Regions from separate parts of the Homo sapiens genome. Here region 2 is linked to region 1. The links are contacts of gene promoters, found by promoter capture Hi-C in blood cells and fetal thymus (Javierre and others, 2016). All regions are on one chromosome and are shown on one strand. The core of a region is centred on a gene start or on the middle of the fragment in contact, and the rest is flanking DNA. Distances in the headings are between cores, read along the strand shown.

The links. The method cuts DNA at HindIII sites, captures the fragments that hold promoters and counts their contacts. A CHiCAGO score of 5 or more calls a contact.
Region 2: a contact is called between a fragment that was not itself captured here and the fragment with the promoter of MAP3K12 in region 1, in 1 of 17 cell types (total B cells). The highest score is 5.3, in total B cells.

The regions. Positions count from the first base shown.
Region 1 is chr12:53,496,811-53,501,431 of GRCh38, reverse strand. It overlaps MAP3K12 (mitogen-activated protein kinase kinase kinase 12), which reads left to right and starts at 1,974. Exons shown (of 14, transcript NM_001193511.2): 1 at 1,974-2,005. It overlaps TARBP2 (TARBP2 subunit of RISC loading complex), which reads right to left and starts at 149. Exons shown (of 9, transcript NM_134323.2): 1 at 1-149. The coding sequence starts at 23. RefSeq lists an enhancer at 215-514 and a silencer at 1,608-1,857. The HindIII fragment of the contact is 6,087 bases long and covers 536-4,621 here.
Region 2 is chr12:112,012,574-112,017,194 of GRCh38, reverse strand. ERP29 (endoplasmic reticulum protein 29) reads right to left here and starts at 3,769. Exons shown (of 3, transcript NM_006817.4): 1 at 3,586-3,769. The coding sequence starts at 3,729. It overlaps TMEM116 (transmembrane protein 116), which reads left to right and starts at 4,030. Exons shown (of 11, transcript NM_001193531.2): 1 at 4,030-4,193. RefSeq lists enhancers at 2,296-2,435, 4,106-4,295, 4,166-4,621 and silencers at 3,436-3,525, 3,866-3,945. The HindIII fragment of the contact is 577 bases long and covers 2,473-3,049 here.

The sequences.
Region 1 (4,621 bases), core at 725-3,224:
GAGCCTTGCTCCTCTTCACTCATTCCCTCCTCCGTCCCCGCGGGCGCCACCGTGACTGCAGCCTCCACGCGCCCCAATACACAGCCGACGAGCTAGGGCCGGGGCCAAGCCCGGAGTCGCGGCCGGTAGGGCCCGCCGCGGGGCACGCTGGGATATGGAGTCCCCCGCCCACCCTACTTCGTGAGCCTCCATCTGGAGGGGAGCTATCCGCCCCACAACCCTCTGCGTGCGTGGCTCGCCCGGGCAGGCTGCACCGCCTTCTGGGAGGAGCGGGCCCTCCGCCGTCGCTTCTCGAGAAGGCCGTATTTTTTTGTTTGTAATACCGTCCCGCCTCCTTCCTTCCGCGCCCCCTCTCTCCCGGTCCGTGAAGCTGTGGACATGCGTACTAGCGGAGGGGAAGCCGCTGGGTAGGGAGGCGGTAAGGACTCACTTGGGCACGGAGCCTTTTGGATCGCGAGAAAACTACAGAACCCAAGAGCCCGCGCGCCATCTGTGTCGCAGCTGGAGAGGCAGGGTCAAGCACGCACGAGAAGCTTCATGGCGTCATTGGTTACTCCCATTGCGATTACTTCCCCTAGGTGCACTGAGATTGGTTACTTCGACTAAAGGGGCGGAGACAAGGAAAAGTCAGCCCCCCCCGACCCCGCCTCCTTGATGAAGGAAGGTTGTGATTGGTCCGGAGAGGCTGCCGTCGGATCCTGGCTCTTTGCGGTCTGGGAGGGTGGGCCTTACCTAGACGCCGGAGGGGACCGATCTCTGTTTCCGCAGGGCTCTGGAGCTGGTGCAGGTTTAAGTCCGTCTCAGACAGTCCCCTCAACCCACAGCCTAAGCCCCTTGCCCTTGGGCCTCCGTGACACAGAACTTGCTTCCTTTTCCTAGGTCGTCCTTCACCTCCCTTCAGGTGTTGCTTCTTTTGTGAAACCTTTTTAGAACCGCTCTAGTGAACCTCTCTTTAACTGGCGAGGAAACCTCTGGGGCCTGATAATCAGGCTGTAATGTGGGACGACAGGATTAGAAGGACTAGGCACCTTGGTGGTCTTGTTCCCTCTTCCATGAGTCTTGGGTCTCTCAGCTGAAGAGAGCAAAAGTGAATTTTGGCCGCCTAAGATTAATCAACTGATCTGGGTGTTGAGCAGACGCGCATTGTTTAGTCCTAGAGCCCCATTGCCTCCTCCCCCAAAGTTGCACAACCACTGGGCTGAGGGAAATCTTGTGACCTTGGAGAGAGAAAGGGAGAGACCACATTAAAAAAAAAAAAGGTTCTAATGAGTGTTCTGAGAAGGGGTCAAGAAAGATGTCTTACTCTGAGCCGGGGTTGGAGGTCCAGAGGAATCTTGAAATGATAATGAGGGGTCATCCAGGAACACTGGAGGAGGATGGGGCCTAGAGCCGAGTGAATTCCAAGTGGGTGAAATTGGAGTGAGTGGTGACAATCAAGGGAAGGAGAGCTGGCAAGATCGGTATGATAGGGGGAGCAATGCCAGAGCGCTAGGGATCCCAACTGAGGGGCTGCTCTCTCCGATGTAGAAAGGAGTCTATAAGACGGGTCATAGGGGGTTCCTGTGGAATCAGCCTGAGGCCTGAGGTGGGACCTCCATAGGACACCGCCAGCAGGGAGGCGCGGGGCCCAGGCGGGCCAGGTACGAGCCTGGAGCGCGCCGGATGGCAGCAGCGGGCTCCTTTAAGAGGCCGGCGGCTCCATCGCAGCATCCCCCGCTCAGGGCGTGTCCGTCCCGGGGGGCCAGGGGCGGGGGCCCTGGAAGGAGCGGGAGTTCAAGCCGAGCAGGGACGGGGCTAGGGGTCGGGGGGTGGGGGCAGAAAGCTGAAGCTGACACCCGTGCATCCGGACACCGCACGAGCATCGCCTGTGACAGCGCCCCGGGTCCGGTGGAGGGCAGCGGGGGGAGGAGGGAAGGAGGAGGAGAAGGAGGAGGAGGCGGGAGCAGCATCCGGAGCGGAGCTGCAGCAGCGCCGCCTTTTGTGCTGCGGCCGCGGAGCCCCCGAGGTGAGAGCCTGGCCGAGTTGTGGGGGGGTGGGGGGCAGGGATGGGTCTGGGTCCTGGGATCCGGGCGTGGAGGGAGGGTCGGGATGCAGATGTGGCCTGGTGCGGGGTGATGGCGTGGGGATGCTGAGGCTGTGGGGATGGAGGAACTGGGGACCTGGACCCGACGCCTGTGGGGCTGGGAAGGAAGGGAATGGAGCGGAGGGATGCCGCGGCCCAGCTTGGAGACGAAGGGCCTCCAGAGCTGGAAAGGACCGTATTGGGGTGGGGTGGAGGATGATTGGGGGACAGACTTAAAGGACAGAGGGCAAGAGAACATCTCCTCCCACTCATCCTCAGGAAGAGAGAGAGGGAAGGAGGAGGGAGAGTTTTGGCCCCCTCTAGGGAAGGAAAGGAAGGGCAAGGACTGATATACCCACCATCTCCACACACACACACACACACACACACACACACACACACACACACACACACACACACACACACACACACACACACACACACACACACACACACACACAGCAGGCTGGACCTGAAGATTAGTCAGAGAGCACCTGTTCCTGCATGCCCAGGCGTTGGTCCCCCTCCCCTTCAAGCTGTGATCCTCCTAATCCCCTCCAGCTGTGGCATTCACCTCCAGCTGTGGCATTCACCTCCATCCAGCTGTTGCATCCTCCCCTCCCCCATTCACGTGTGGGTTTCTCCCTCCTCTTTCTCTCCATCTCCTCTGGCTCCCCTAACCCATCTCCCCCAGTCAGGCCCTCCAAAAACCTCCTCCCTTTCCCACAAACACTCCTCAAACTCATTGGCTTAAAAATAAACAAGAGTTGAGACTTGCTGGTAACCAAGGCCTTGACTGAGAGGAGGGAAGAGTCAAGGCTCTGTAGACAGTGGGAGGAAACAGTGAGGTGTCCCTTAGAATTAAGGGAGGAGTCCTACCTTGTAGATGCTCATCTGCTGCCTTTTTCAGAGGAGCGTAGGTGAGTGGCCTCCAATCAGAAGGGAGTGCACATGAGGTCTCCTCACCCCACCCAGAGTCGTCTCAAGCCACAGTCAGTGCATCCCTCTAAACACATTTCCCTTGCAGTTCTCAAGGTGGACTCCATTGCTCTAGGAGCTCTGAGTTTCAGCCAGAGGGTCCTACCAAGCTAAGGCTAACAGAAAGGATTTAGGAAGGATAGGACTCAAGTGCCCCCTGAGCCTTCCTGTCCAGACACTGAAGTTTCTCTGAGCTTTAGGGCCCCACTCCCTCCTATCTCACACTTACAGGTGAAAAAAAGTGTGTCCCCTCAAGCGTATCATTCATCCACTCACTCCCATTGTCAACTGGGGTAATGTTAGGAAAACCCCAGCTCTCAACATGGAGACACCAGCTAAATATCCATCCCAGTTATGGACAGAGGAGGCAAGAAGTTAGACATGGCTCAGGATTTCCTAGGCTTCCTTATAGCTGAAGAGGGCAGAACCCTTCTAAAAACCAATTGCTTTTCCCCTCGTGGTGACACTGTGGTAGGATCAGGCTTTTCTAGGAAGAGGACTCTTGGTTCTACCACTCACAGCCCGGACTCTCGTAATGCACAGTCCTCCCTCTCCCCTGCCTGGATCTGGAGAGAAAGAAGGAATCAACCCTGTAAGAAGTCCTTGCTAGGGTGGACTGGAGATCACCCCTACATTCAGGTCCTCAGCCCTACACCAGTCAAGCCCTGGGACCCCCAGCTGCCATGCTTCTTCCAGTGAGGTGGAAATGTCTGCCCCTCACGCCAGCCACTCATGCATTCACTCACACTGTTGACTGAGGTGATGCTGGGAAGAAGGAGGATACTGTTGAGATGATGCCAGCAGGGGACATAGGGGCTTCATGAGGGCCTGGCCACAGAGACTGGTCTGTCTGGTTCATTGGCTCCCAGAAGGACTGGGGTCATATGTGTGCGTGGAGAAGGTGAGGAGACTGTGACAGTGACCAGATTCCAGAGGAGGCTAAAGATCATTCAGGATAGAGCCCTTGCCCTTTGGTTTCTTCATTCTTTGGTCTTTTTTTTCCCTCTTGTTTCTCCACCTCCCTTTCCACCCATACCCTCCCTACTGGCACTTGCTTTGAGAGAGAGAACAAGGGAAAGAAGGGAAGGGAATCACATTCATAAAAAACTTACAAGTGTGTGTTAGGCACTTTCCATATGGCTAATGCTTATAGAGAGCTTCCTGTGTGCCAGGTCCTGGGCCAAGAACTTTATTTTGATTTTCTTAATCATGCCCGTAACAAGACCAAGTGAGATAGTGTTATCATCATCTCTGATGGAGGAGAAAACTGAAACTTAAGTAATTTGTTTAAAGTAAAAAAGTTAGTATGTGGCAAGAGGTAGGATTTGAACCCAGGTCTGTGTAACCCAGAACCTGTGTTCTTACCCACCACATTATGTACTGCATTGCCACTGTGGGACATAGGTACCACTGTCCCCGTTTAGCAATGAAGAAACTGAGGTTTGTTGAAAAGTCTCAGGCCAGGTCACCCAACTGGCCAGGAGCAGAGACAAGACCTCAGGAAGCCACTCTGATTTTGAGGCCTGTGTTCTCTCCTCTACCACCTACCCTCTCCCTATTGCACAACTGTCCTAATAAGCT
Region 2 (4,621 bases), core at 1,512-4,011, about 59 Mb before region 1:
CTGAAAATATCTGATGAATGAACAATACTCTGACAGGCTTTGTAGCAGATGCTACATGTTGGGGAAGGGGAGAATGTTTAAAAAGCAAAACACGGGATACCTACTTTCAAGGGCCTGCACTTGTATTATGGAATAATATTAATAATTATACAGTGGTCTAACATTAAAATAGAATTCAGAGATCTCCACCTTCTACTTTCACCATTCTTAGTTTCAAGGGTAAGGCAGAATGGTTTTGAATGGCAAACATTTGCATAAAGAATTTTCTCTTGTTATCTTAGTCTGTTATTTTTTATTTTTTTTTTGAGGCAGGGTCTCGCTCTGTTGCCCGGGCTGGAGTGCAGTGGTGCCATCTCAGCTCTCTGCAGCTCCGCCTCCCGTGTTCACGCCATTCTCCTGCCTCAGCCTCCCAAGTAGCTGGGACTACAGGTGCCCGCCACCACGTCCGGCTAATTTTTTTGTATTTTTAGTAGAGACAGGGTTTCACCGTGTTAGCCAGGATGACCTCGATCTCCTGAACTTGTGATCCACCTGCCTCGGCCTCCCGAAGTGGTCTGTTATCTCTTAATGATAGCTTTAGAAGTCTATTTTCCTCATCTACTTCCTACCAGCCCTTGGTGTCCAATGGGCTAGTGGGAATCAGCTCTACCATTACCTATAATCAGGCAACTCACTTCTTTAAAGTATAGATAAGTTCATTATTCATTCATTCGTTCATTGAGTAAAAAGTTACTAAAGGCCTGCCAGGCACCATACTAAGTGAACACAGCAGGGAACAAAATGGCATCTCTTAGCTCATGAAACTAACATTCTAGTGATGGTGAAGGGAAAGAAACAACAACAAAAAAGATACTGGAAATCACTGAAAGGCAAAGCATGGAACAAGGCTGCCAGACAGAACACTAGTACATTTCCTTTTGGTTCAGTCGTGATGGAAGAGAAGATTTGAAAAGAGACTGGAGAAAACGTTTGTTCATTCACGCAACAAAATAGTTATTGTGCACCTTCTATGAGACAGGTAATCTGTTATGCAGCGCAGACGATCAGGAACAAAATAGACAAGGAGCTTCTTCATGAGCACATAATATTCCAGTGAGAGAGAAAGATGGCAAAATAGATTTTTAAAAAATCAGTGATGAGTGCTGTATGGAGAAATAAAACAGATTAATGTGACTGGCACTTTAGACTGGGGGGAAGATAAATCAAGGAAGAACTCTAAGGAGGAAACACTTAACCTAAGCCCGAATGATGAGAAGTAACTAACTAGCCTTTCAAAGTTTGGGCAGAGAATATTCCAGTCACAAGGAACAACTAGTGCAACATATCCTAAGGCAGTAAAGAGCAAGGAATATTCAAAAGACAGTAGGAGAATGGTTGGGAGATGAGAGGGAAGCCAGGAGTCAGGTCATATAGAACTTAGGCTACTGTGTGGAGACTCAAGAGTGGAAGCAGGGAGACCAGAGAAGAGGCTATTGTAATGTTGACCTAGACTAGGGTGGTAATAGTAGAAAACACTGTTAGCTTTATGGCGCAAAGTTTCCCTTTGGGTCACACTTGTTCTGTGATATTATCTGATTCCCATGGAGCAGGGTGGGGTAGGGGTGTCATTTTGCCAGTAAAGGCCCCCAAAGCATAGGGTGCTGTAGGGTGTGTCTGAGCATGCCTGACAACCAATCAGCCACACCTACACCATTTTTTTTTTTTTTGAGACAGAGTTTTGCTCTTGTTGCCCAGGCTGGAGTGTCATGGCATGATGACGGCTTACTGCAACCTCCACCTCCCAGGTTCAAGCAATTCTCCTGCCTCAGCCTCCCGAGTAGCTGGGATTACAGGCACCCGCCACCACGCCCAGCTAATTTTTGTATTTTTAGTAGAGACAGGGTTTCACCATGTTGGCCAGGCTGGTCTCCAACTCCTGACCTCAGGTGATCTACCTGCCTCAGCCTCCCAAAGTGCCGGGATTACAAGCATGAGCCACCGCACCCAGCCCACACTTTTTTTTTTTTTTTTGAGACGGAGTATTTGCTCTGTCGCCCAGGCTGGAGTGCAGTGGCGTGATCTTGGCTCACCGCAACCTCCGCCTCCTGGGTTCAAGCAATTCTCCTGTCTAAGCCTCCCGAGGAGCTGGGACTACAGGTGTCCACCACCACGCCCAGCTAATTTTTGTATTTTTAGTAGGGACGGGGTTTCACCTTGTTGGTCAGGCTGGTCTCAAACTCCTGACCTCAGGTGATCTACCCGCCTCAGCCTCCCAAAGTGCTGGGATTACAGGCGTGAGCCACTAAGCCCGGCCTACACTTTTAAATTCTTGAAACTTTGCCTTGAATGAGCTGCAAGTGCCAAATCCACGACAGGGAACGCTTGAAAATAGGAGACTTCAACCACTGGAGACAACTACTTCTTGGTTTCACTTCCCCACAATGAGTACAAAACCTGAAAATGAAATGACTGGCTCTCTCGCAACACTAAGCTTGCCCATCTCCTAGAGGAAGTTAAAAGCTGCTCGTGGGTGAAGACAGGTGCAAGAGGAGGGGACTGGGACTGCGGTGTTGCATTCAGCCACCATTTCCAACCGTCCATTTACTCAGGCCAGGATCCCTAATTCTGCAAAAATGGAAGGGGGGAAAGGCGGAGGTAGTGGCAAATTCTTCCATGCCTTGACCCAATTTTACTGATTTTGTTGCCAACCCCAAGATGTTTCCTACAACAGCTATCCCCAACCTTTTTGGCACCAAGAACTGGTTTCATGGAAGACAACTTTTCCACGGGGTTGGGTGGTTTCGACATGAACCTGTTTCGCCTCAGATCATCAGGCATTAGATTCTGATAAGAAGCACACAACCTGGATCCCTCACATGCGTAGTTCACAATAAAGGTCGTGCTCCTATGAGAATGTAATGCCGCAGCTGATGTAACAGGAGGCGGAGCTCAGGCTGTAGTGCTAGCTCGCCTGCCGCTCACCTCCTGCTGTGCGGCCCGGTTTCTAACAGGCCACCGACGGGCCTGGTGGTTGGGGACCCCTGCTTTACAGGGTGGCTGAACTGAAGCTTATTCTTCACGCTTGCACTATTCAAGATGTATGATATCTGATCATTGTTTGCACACTGCAAAGCAGGCTGCAATCCAACCCTGGGAAGAGGGGCGCGGACACGCAGGCTAACGCGCCTGCATTTCCCCCCGCCAACCCCTCCCAGCTTCCACAGCCGGGAGCCCGGTGGCGTCGACCTCGCACCGCCCTCCGGTTCTCCCACTTGGGACTCGAGGGTTGGATCTCGCCAGGCACCGCCCTCTCCCCACAGGTGAAGGGAAGGGGCACCCAGTTCCCTCGGCTGCATCTTTGCAAGGGTGGATGCAAGTATAAATGCTGCAAAAGCAAGGGTGCGCCGGGGCCCTGAAGCGTGCATGCCCGGTGGTCATAACATTCTCCGCTCAGAGTCCACTAGGCCTGTAGGACGCCGGGAAGCTCTGGGACCGTTGCTACAGACCACCTCCCGTCAGCTCCCGGAATCCAGCGTCTCCCCACGGGCGCGCGCTCTTCCGGGCGCCCCGGCGGCACCTGCGCGCGACGTCCCCCGCCCCGGTTACCTTGTAGAAAGTGACCGTATCCAGGGGAAGGGCGCCCTTGGTGTGCAGGCCGCTGCCGCCATGCGGAGCGGAGAGGAGCAGGAAGCCCAGGAGAAGGGGAAGCAGCGGGGAGAGAAATGCGGCGCGGGGCACAGCGGCAGCCATATCGCCGGGTTCCTGCAGAGGGAGGTAGGTAAGCGATAGTGGAGAACGCCCCGAGTCAGCGGTCACGTGACTGGGGGGGCGGACTCACGCGCGCTCACGTGGACACCCCAGGAGGCTCCCATCTGTCTAGGGTGAGAGGGTGGGGCCACGTGAGGGGCGGGGCGAGGGAGGGGAAGCTGCTGCGCACGCGTACTCGGCGAAGCTCGCGTAGGGCCTGGGTAAAAGGGCGGGGCCACGTTGCGGGCGGGAAAATGGGCTCCTGCGCGCGCGCACTCGCCGAGTCTTCCGGCGGGTCCGCCCAGTTCCGTTCCTGCTCCGCTTGAGGAGAAGCGCCAAGTGCGCATGGGGACGCTATAGCAATTCGTTTGCTGTCCTTCCTCTCCTTCGAAGATGACAAGGCCTACCATCGTTTCTTCCTGCCTTTGGGCCGTCAGGCAGTTGGTTGGGACCCGCTCCAACCCTCGGTCAGTCTATTAGTCAAGTTCAGCCGTTATTCTCAGTCAGGCTCCGTCACCACCCTGACCCAGGCGGGCAGTGGCTCCGCGGCTTCCCTGAGCTTTTTGGCCAGGCTTGGCGGTCAGTGTGGCAAGCAGGGCCCTCTTAGGCCCGATCTGAGGTGAGCGCCTCCCCTGGGAGACGCCAGGCTCCTGGGATCCGCCCAGCCAAGGCCCACCCTCCAGGAACCCCAGACGCAATTCTAATCATTCTGTTCCGCAGGTAGTCACTCGGTCCCTGGCTTGTGCCAGACTCTGGCTTTGCCTGCGGGGCTACGGAATAAGCAGAAACAAGACCGTTGTGTGCTGAAGGCACGCACTTTGTTGGGGGAGGAGGCGGCATAGGAATAATGATCTAAACAGTGCAGTGTAATTGCTGTAAAATATTATTCCGGCTG